2 separate regions of the Homo sapiens genome follow, and region 2 is linked to region 1. Evidence: promoter capture Hi-C in 16 types of primary human blood cells and fetal thymus (Javierre and others, 2016). All regions are on one chromosome and are shown on one strand. The core of a region is centred on a gene start or on the middle of the fragment in contact, and the rest is flanking DNA. Distances in the headings are between cores, read along the strand shown.

Region 1 (4,835 bases), core at 2,071-4,570:
TGACGAAGACAGCCCCTCCCCCGCTCTCCGCCCTCCACCCCCCTGCCTGCTCCAACATAATCCTCGCCATTGTGCCCGTCGCCCCCTCCCCCCGCTCCCCCTCTCTAGACCCCTGTACAATGGGGCCTTTGCAGCCTCCAGAATGGAGATGAACTCACGGTTTTTCCAAGTTTAAAAATAGCCCCTCCCATCCCGCAGAAGGCCACCCTCCCTCTCTCCCATGGTGGTGTGGGGTGCACCTCCATCCCGGCTGTGCCTCCTTCCTCCTGCCCTGGGTCAGGTGCGAAGGACATGGGTGAGACAGCATCCGGCGGGAGCAGGGCTGCTTCCCCCGATTCAATCTCTTCCCCCACATCTTCCATCCACCCCCCAGTACAGTATCCGGTTTCCTGCCCCCTACCCTTTTCCACCCTGTTTTCACTCCTTCAGTATAATCTTCTCCTACTCACACCCACATTCTGGAAAAATTCTCCAACTTCCGCACCCCCTCCAAAGACCCAGGCCGGATCCTATTATCTGGCCTGGCCAGGGGGTTCCCCAGTCTCGGTAACTGCCAAGATTGTTGGGACTCCCACCCCATGTCCTCACAGCAGCTGCAAACACCTCTTTATCAGCTTCCTTCCTCGAGCTACTTCTGACCCACCCTTCTCATATCCTCACATCCTGGTCAAGGCCCCTGGATCCAGAAGGGTGGGTCAGAAGTCGCTAAGTTCCCTTTGCTGGAGCTGAGAGAGGACACTTGGGTTCCAGTCTTGCCCCTTCATGGCCTCTGGGGACAGGTCCATCCTTGTCTTTTTACCTCCAACTCCCCAGGGTTCCACTTCTCCTTACAATGAGCTGAAAGCTCCACCCATCCAGGAGACTGTGGCTGAGGAGCCCAACCAGGACCCCCACCCCACCTGGCCTCAGTTTCTCCACCTGTGGTCAGACCTATACCAGAGACACGCAGAGGGCATTATGCGCAGGAGGGTCCCCTCATGTGTGAGGGGCCCAGGTCCACCATGGGGCTGGAGGAAAGCAGCCTTCTTGCCTGCAACCCAACGAGGGAAAAAAGAAGAATTAGGACTCTGCCCCCAGGGCCTCTTCTGGCCCTGGCCTACATCTGAGCCAGGCTCTTCCAACCCAGTCCAGGTGCTGGGTCCCTGCAGGGTAGACGGCCGTGGCCTCCTCCTCCAACTCCCTTCTGCTGGCTGTCACTCCTGTCCTGCTGGAAGTCCCGCAGCCACCTTCTCTCCCCTGGGGCTGCCGGAGCACTAGCCTCTGGCCTCTAAGAAGAGCTGAGGGCTGATCCCCTTCACCTTCCGCTCCCTCCACCCTGCTCCCTGCCTCCACTCCTGCGTCCTTTCCGAGGTCCTGACCCGTCTTTAGTTTGGAATCCCAAAGTGCCCACCTCATGAAACCATCCCAAAGCTATCTGTCCCCTGAGGCTATGACCCACTTCCGAGCAGCCTAGACAGCCCCAGGCTACTGGCTTCCTTAAAGGACAGTCTTCTGTGCTTGTTTGGTGGGGCAATGCGAAGGGACGTCACCCTGGGCTCTAGGCTCTGACCTCATTTCCCTTTCACCGCAGAGACAAATCCTCCACCCCCACCTGGCTTCACTCTCCTCCAGCGGAAGAAGAATTCAGAACTGACTGTCCTTGGTGGTTAGCTGGCTTTGTTTTCAGGCCAGAGAGGCGAATGATTAGTTAATGGTGTTAAGTGAAGGAAGGGGGTTGGGCAGGGAAGCCAGCTCCATGCCCAGCCGGGCCTGCCAGGGCAAACGGCATCCTTCAGCCATTCCCACTCCAGCCCAGCAGACAAAACATTCTCATCTAGTCAGCTCTGGGCCTGGGGCCAGTCCATACATTCACTCTGGAGGGCGAGCCAGCGTCCTCCTCTTGTTCTCCCTGCAGGCTCCAGGCTCCAGGCCCCTGGCCCGGTGGGCCTGGGCTCTGCACAGCCTCTGGCTGGAGACTAATGGCATTGGAGGAGGGGTCGAGAAGGCTCTGAAAGACAAGCCTGGTGTGGTTTTCCAGTCATCTCTGCGTCATCAAAACGCCACCCCGGAGCATGCTCTCAAGTCACCTGGCCATCTCCAGGGTTTGCTGGCTCACCCTCCACCTCCCCCAGCGAGCAAAGGGGTGGCCCCGCTGGGCAACAGACCTCTACCCAAATCCAGGCCCCTATTTGGCACTCCCTGGTGGAGGCGCGCCAGCAGATGTGGACCCCTTTTCTGAGGCCAGGCTGCTGGGGTCAGAGTGAGGCAAGAGCACCTCCCCCTCCCTAGAGCCTTAGTTCAAGAGGCCAGAAGACCCAGGGAGAAGCCGGCGTTTTGGGAGAAGGGGAGCTGCAGAGCTCCCCACCCAAGCAGGTCTGATTTGATTCTTCCCTCAGCTATGGACCCACAATCAATAGGGCTGGGGAAGACATGGGGTGGGGGAAGATCAGCGCTGCCGGGATCCTTTCAATCATCAGGAACAGCAACAGGTTTGCAGGGTCAGGCTGGGGACCCTCGCCCATTAACTCTTTCTTCTCCCTGTTTCTTTCTCTTAGGTGAGGGGAAACTGAGTTCCAGGGTAGGCTCCAGAGTGAAGAGGGAAGAAACATGATTCTCAAGGCCCAGGTCTGGACAAGTGTGAACACCTTGGGCCTGCGAATTCAGCCCCCTCCTTCCTTTCTCTGGTCAAAGGCTAGACTTGCAGGAGCTTGCGTTTGAAGGGACAGCCCAGAAGGCATCGTCTGCACTCCCCATACAGGTACTTCTGGGTCTGTGGGACTGGCGCAGGGTTCTTCTCCCAAAGCTGCCAGCACTGAGGCTGAGGCAGTGTCAGGCCGGCGGCAGCGGCAGTGGTGCAATCGTTCTGGGAAGCGATAGAGGCCGGCCTGAATTCTCTGTGGCAAGGGAGGGGAGCCCAAGTGGGAGGCCCCTTGGGGACACCGAGGACCAGGTCCGCTACTGCTCCTCCCCCAGGAGGTCCCCTAGGGGCTACATTGGCTGGCAGGGGCTGAGCAGCGGTGAGCCTGGCTGGCTTCGACCCGGGGCGACTCCGGGCATCCGGGACAGCTTCTCCTCGCTGCCACCTCGGCCAGTCAGACCCCGAGACACCTGTCACTACCCCCTCAGCCTTCCCAAGCCAGGAGCCTGGGAGTCCGGCTCTGGCCTACCTCCGGCAGCGCTCCTAGGCGCAGCTCCCGGGCTGGCGGCGCCGGGGCCCGCCCCCTAGGGCTGCGGCGCGCGGGGCGGGGGCTGGGGGCTGCGCGGGGCGGGGCGGGCCCGGGCGCTCCGGGCCCCCTCCCCCGCCCCCCTGACGTCAGCCCCCGGCAGCCTCGAGCTGCTCACTTGGCTCTCGCCCTCCGGCCGGGAAGCATGGGGCTTCCCAGGCTGGTCTGCGCCTTCTTGCTCGCCGCCTGCTGCTGCTGTCCTCGCGTCGCGGGTGAGTTCGCTCGCAGGGGGGCCGCGCCCCGGCTAGGGGTCTGCGGTGGAGCGTGCCAGGGAGCAGAGCCAGCGGCGCGGCGGGGTCGGGGCGTTGCGTCTGGGAGGACGAGCCTCCTCCCTGGGTCCCCGATCCCCGGGCGCCTTGCGCGCGAGCAACTCTTCTTTGCAGCCAGTTTGCAGCCGGGATTCTAGAGTATCCCGGGAGCAGCACTCGGAAGGCGGGGAGGAGGCTGCTTCTGGGAACGAGAAGGGGTGGAGCTCAGCCTTTCGGGGTGCTGGGGGGTGGGTGGTCCCTGAGGTGCTCACTCTGGGGGCCCGCAATTGAAGCCGGGCAGGAGGCGCAGCTGGGGCGCATCCTCAAAGCCTGAATTCCGCGCCCGCCTGTTGCTGGAAAAGGCAGCTTCCTTCGCTGGAGGGGGTGCGCCGACCCACCCCTTCCCCCTTCTGCCTGGGCATCACGCCAGGCTGGAGGTGAGCGAGAGCGGGAGGTTCGGCGGCTCCCGCCCGAGCTGGGCGTTGGCAGGGGTTGCGGGGCGGTGTGGGTCGCCTCGCGCCTCCCCGAGTGATGGGATCATAGGGGACAGAGATGAGGGATGGAGGATTCCCATACTGGAAGCGCCCGCTGGCTTATTTTGGGGACCACATTCAGGTGGGAAGTGCGCCCGGGCACCTCGGAGCGTTTCTCCGGATCCGCCTGGTAGCAGGGCGCTCTCGGGTCCACGCTGCCCTTGTATGGCCCGCAGCGGTGTCGCGTGTTTCTCTTGGCTCCCATTCCGCCGTCCCAGCCGCTGTCCGGCTGGGGAAGGGGAGGGCTAGGCAATACCCAGCTCGCTGGCCTCATGCCCAGTGCCAACCATGTCCCTGGGGTATTCCAGGCTACTGCCTCCCAGGCTGACTTTATTTCTGGGGAAAGGGCTAAATCGGGCTCCACAGTTGCAGCCGGTCCAGCTCCACCCTGCCCTGCTCTTCTAGCTCTGGGAGGAGTCAGGGGTCTGAGGCTCTGGGTTGGAGACCCCACCTTCCACCTGCCCTCCTTGTCCGAGAGCCAAGGTAACAACCCAGGCATCCCAGAGCCCAGGCAGATGGTGTCGAGTGACATCACCTCCTCACAGGGCTGGCAGCACGCTGGCACCACTGACGTCACTCCTGCCCACTGCCTGGCCCTTGCCCTGACCCCTGGGGGAGACTCTGACCTCTCCATCCTTACCAGCTACCTAGGGTGGGGTCCGCGGGTGTGTGCGGAGTGTTCATGGAGGTGCTGCTGAGGGAGCATGAGACCGGAACTTCCGCCAGAGTTAGCCCGCTGGGGAGTGAGGGCAGGGATTTTGGAGGGCAGAGGATAGAGCAGTGGTGTCTTCCCCTGGCGGTGGTGACACAAAAGGGCCTGTGTGCCCCAGCCTGGCACATGCTTTGCATTC
Region 2 (4,398 bases), core at 531-3,030, 170 kb after region 1:
ACTGCTGTACAGGGAAGAGAGAGAAAGGAACAATGCATGGAGAGCTGGGAAACCGGGCTTCTGGTCTCAGCTCTACCACTTACTAGCTGTGTGACATTGGTCAAGTTACTCAACTTCCCTGGGCCTCAGTTTCCTTATTAGTAACATGGAGATGACATCTATCCTGCCAAACCGCCACCCTCCCTGCTTCTGAGCACTGTGGTAAGAATGGAATAAGATGACAGGAATGAGAACGTCTTTATAATTAGGTCCAAGGGTATTGCTCAACCCTGCAGACACAGCCCCCTACTTTTTCATACCAGCCCTCACAGGTAGGAATCCTCCATAAACAAAAGAAGGAAAACTCATCAAGGACCACTCAAGGACCAGAGGTCACGGGATCTCTTTAGAAGATACAGCTTCAATAACCAATTGCACCTAGTATCCCATGGTGCTCACAGGTGTGGGGGAGCGTAGATCCTGACACCCCAAGAGTGCACAGTGAGCAACGGGCTGGGGCCCAGATTTTAGTGTTTCCACAGAGCCCACTGGTGCAGGACTTTCCGAACATGGGACACCCAGGCCTCATGCTTCTGGAGAGGCAACTCAGAGAGGGCCCACGGACTCCCCCTACCAGGCTGTTCCCTACCCCTTTTGCGCCAGCAGGGCCCCTCCCGCACGGAATAGGACAGCTCCACGAACTCGATGTCCACGGCTGAGCGCTTGGGTAGGTGGGAGAAGCGCTGGGCTTCAGTGATGTGGTTCTCCACCTTCTTCAGGTGCGTGGTCAGCACAGGGGGTTCCGCCCCGTCCTCCAGCGTCACGGCCATGGCCACAGCCCCCGGCCCTAGTCCACAGCCCACGGCCTCCAGCGCCTTCTCCGCCATCACGCCGCCGACCTGCAAGGGGAGGGCCTGCTCAGTTTGGGGCAGACCACCGAGCCCGGCTCAAAGCTCCCTGGCGTTCTAATGCTTCCCCCGCCCCCACTGCCCACCTCCTTCTCGGGGCAGATCCGCGACTGTTAGCCCCGCACTCTGCCCCCGCCCCCCACTCTCCGCACGGAGACGCTCAGTCCCGGGCAGCCCAGCTCCAGCCTGACCCCAGCCCGTCCCCTTGAAGCCCTCAATCGCTCCTTCCTCCCGGCGGCTTCTCTAATCTCCTTACCCCGCAGGCCAGCAGCCCCTGGGGACTGAAGGAATAGGGGGCGGGGGAGAAGAGGCAGCCGGCAGAGGCTGCCCGCTCTAGGAGGTCGGGGTAGCAGGGTGAGTGCAGGGCGGACCAGGGGAAGGCGGAGAGGAGGAGGCTTCAGGCCTCCGGCTGCGTCCCACTCCCCATCCCTTGGCGCGACGCCCAGGCCGGCCCCTCCCGCCGGCACCCCCGGGCCCGCGTGCCCCGGGCTGTCCCCAAAGCCAGGCGCACCACCCGGACTCAAAACTAAGCGCCCCACGGCAGCTCAAGCCCCCGCCCCATCTCCCGCATGCCTAGTCACCTTGACGCGCCCCCGGGCCGGTGCGGGGCCGGGATGCTCAGCGCTGCCACGGACCGGGGACGGAGAGCCGGGGCTCCCCTTACCTGCCTCGGGCTGCGGCACCCGCGTCCCGGCTCCCGGTCCCGGCGGCCCGGGCCGGGGCGGGGCCGGGGCGGGGCAGGCGAGGCAGGAGGGCCGGCCCTCGGCTCGGAGGAGACGGCAAGGATGGTGAGAGGCGGTTGGGGTCGCGCCCTGACTCTGCTGGGCTGTGCACACCCGCTTCCCAGAGCCTGGTCCCGGACGCTGTGTCCTCCGAGCCCGCGGGGCGACTGCGCTCTCCTACCAGCTACTGCTCGCCGGTCCCGCCGTTCTTAAAGGGCCCGCGCCGCCCGGCAGCCCGCGGGGGGCGAGGACGGCAAAGGAGAGAGCAGCGCTTGCGGCGCGGGGGCCGGAGGAGGTGCAGGGGTGAACTCAGGACTGGGGGTTGATGGCAAAGGGCCGACTTGGAGGCAGTGAGGAAAGGAGAGCTGGAGTCACTCCGTGGGGACAAGTCCCTGGAAGACAGATTAGGCAAGGGTGTTGGGGGTGGGGGAAAGTGGAGGGATTGTAAAGGTGTCAGTCTGTCTTCACACACGATACCAGTCCCCCAACAATTTCCCTCAGTTCCAGCCCATGAATGAGCGCAGGCCTCCCTCCAGGAATCCCCAAACGAGGTGCAAAGGCTTTCAAAAACGCAGGAGCCTTGGGACATTGGAACATCCTCCTGTCTCCCCATTCACACTTTCTCTGAGTTAGGACACTAATAAAGAAGGGAAAATGGCAGCAGCTTTGGGAGAGCCTGCAGTAGCTCCAGAGTTAAACTGGAACCCAGTGCTCAGCCTGCTCCGACTGTAGTCACCTAGCCAGATACAGGCCTTCAAGACAGGCACATGCCATATCCTGGAGGGACCTGTGTGCCAGGGCATGCACAGGGCTCGCAGACATGCCCTGGGCATCTCATGCACCTGCACATTCTCTCCCTTGCCCCCAAAGCCTTCAAATGTAGGTCCCCAGAACACACTTGGGGCTTTCCCCTGCTCTGCCCCTTTCTCAGCCAATTCCTCTTGGCCCTTGCCTGTCCCAGCCACTATGTCTTCAAGGGGTAAGTAGGTTAGCTAGCCAAGACACGTGATCTGAGCTTTTAAGTTCCCACCTGTCACACAGCAGAGACGATGGGGAGGGAAGGCTCTGAGGCTGCTGGTGTGACTGCCACCGCTGAGGCTTCTCCTTACTGCAGCAGTTGAGGGTTACTAGCAGTCAAACCTCTCCCCTGCTGGCCCCCCTCCCAACCACCTCTCCACAGCCCTAAAAGCTGGCGATCCCTGGAGGATTTCTCTAGGCCCCGCCCTGTTACTCTGAGGTTTGTGTGGGGTTTGGATCCAGTCTTTCCTATCTTCCCCCAACTCCATGCCCCACATCACCACCATTCCTCAGGACCAACCTCCTGTTCTCCAGATGGACCCTCCATTCTCCAAGTCAACTTCTCATCAGCTACTATAGACCTCCCCATCCCCCAACAGTTGCATTTATTAACTACTTTGTACCAGGCATTATGTTATTTAATCTTCACAATATCCCTATGCGACAGGTTTTACAACCCCCCTTTAGAGATGAAAAACTGAGGCATAGGGAGGTTAAGCAATAGTTGGTGGCAAAGCAGGGCTTGAATCCCAAAGTCCCTGATTTTACCCTGCTAATTGGGCCTCTCAGAACCTTATTCCCAAATGGACTGTCTCCCTCTATTTTCTAGACAGGCTCTTCATCCTCCTGAGATAACCTCCATGTCTTAATGCCACCCAGCTTTATTCTTTGGCACACAACTTTCTTTCTTTCTTTCTTTCTTTCTTTCTTTCTTTCTTTCTTTCTTTCTTTCTTTCTTTCCTTTCTTTCTTTCTCTTTCTTTCTTTCTCTCTCTCTCTTTCTCTCTTTCTTTGCTTCTTTCTTTCTTTCTGATATAGTCTCGTTCTGTCACCCAGGCTGGAGAGCAGTGGTGAGATCTCAGCTCACTGCAGCCTCTGCCTCCCAGGTTGAAACGATTCTCCTGCCTCGGCCTCCTGAGTAGCTGGAACTACAGGCACACACCACCACACCCGGCTAATTTTTGTATTTTTTGTAGAGATGGGGTTTCACCATGTTGACCAGGCTGGTCTCGAATTCCTGACCTCAAGTGATCCTCCCGCCTCAGCCTCCCAAAGTGCTGTGATTACAGGCATGAGCCACCACACTCAGCAGATTAAGATTTTTTATTCTCAAGAGTAGACTATAGGCCAGGCATGGTGGCTCACACCTGTAATCCCAGCACTTTGGGATGCCAAGGTGGGTGGATCACTTTAGGTCAGGAGTTCGAGACCAGCCTGGCCAAGATGGCGAGACCCCATCTCTACTAATATTACAAAAATTAGCTGGGCATGGTGGCTCATGCCTATAATACTTTGGAGGCTAGGGCACAAGAATCACTTGAACCTGGGAGGCGGAGGTTGTAGTGAGCCAAGATCGTGCCACTGCACTCCAGCCTGGGCGACAGAGCAAGACTCTGTCTCAAAAAATAAAATTAAATAAATAAATAAGCCAGACGTGGTGGTGTGTGCCTGTAGTCCCGGCTACTCGGGAGGCTGAGGCAGGAGGATCACTTGAGCCTGGGATGATAAGGCTGCAGTGAGCCATAATCATGCCATTGCATAGACCATACATTCTTACTTCCCAGGTCACACCACGGTTCAGGCTCATTTCCTTCCCCCAGATGAATCTTCCTTTCCTTAGCAAACGAGGGGAAACTACATTTATTGAATGTCTACTACCTGCTAGGCACATAGCATGGAGATATGGTTGATCTCTGAGTAAGGGGCTAGGCCAGTCTTTCTCCACTACATTCCTAGAACTTGGACACAGAAATTGCAGTCAAAACTGGGTGT

The links. Contacts are between HindIII fragments. The CHiCAGO score rates a contact against its expected background, and 5 or more counts as called.
Region 2: the fragment with the promoter of ABCG4 here is called in contact with the fragment with the promoter of MCAM in region 1 in 10 of 17 cell types (endothelial precursors, neutrophils, total CD4 T cells and 7 more); the score reaches 9.4 in endothelial precursors.

Annotation. Positions count from the first base shown.
Region 1 is chr11:119,315,615-119,320,449 of GRCh38, reverse strand. It overlaps MCAM (melanoma cell adhesion molecule), which reads left to right and starts at 3,320. Exons shown (of 16, transcript NM_006500.3): 1 at 3,320-3,415. The coding sequence starts at 3,349. RefSeq lists enhancers at 1,691-1,740, 4,634-4,835 and a silencer at 2,982-3,041. The HindIII fragment of the contact is 17,882 bases long and covers 1-4,835 here.
Region 2 is chr11:119,146,434-119,150,831 of GRCh38, reverse strand. It overlaps ABCG4 (ATP binding cassette subfamily G member 4), which reads right to left and starts at 1,780. Exons shown (of 15, transcript NM_022169.5): 1 at 1,469-1,780; 2 at 629-878. The coding sequence starts at 866. RefSeq lists a silencer at 1,602-1,681 and an enhancer at 2,339-2,398. The HindIII fragment of the contact is 14,272 bases long and covers 1-4,398 here.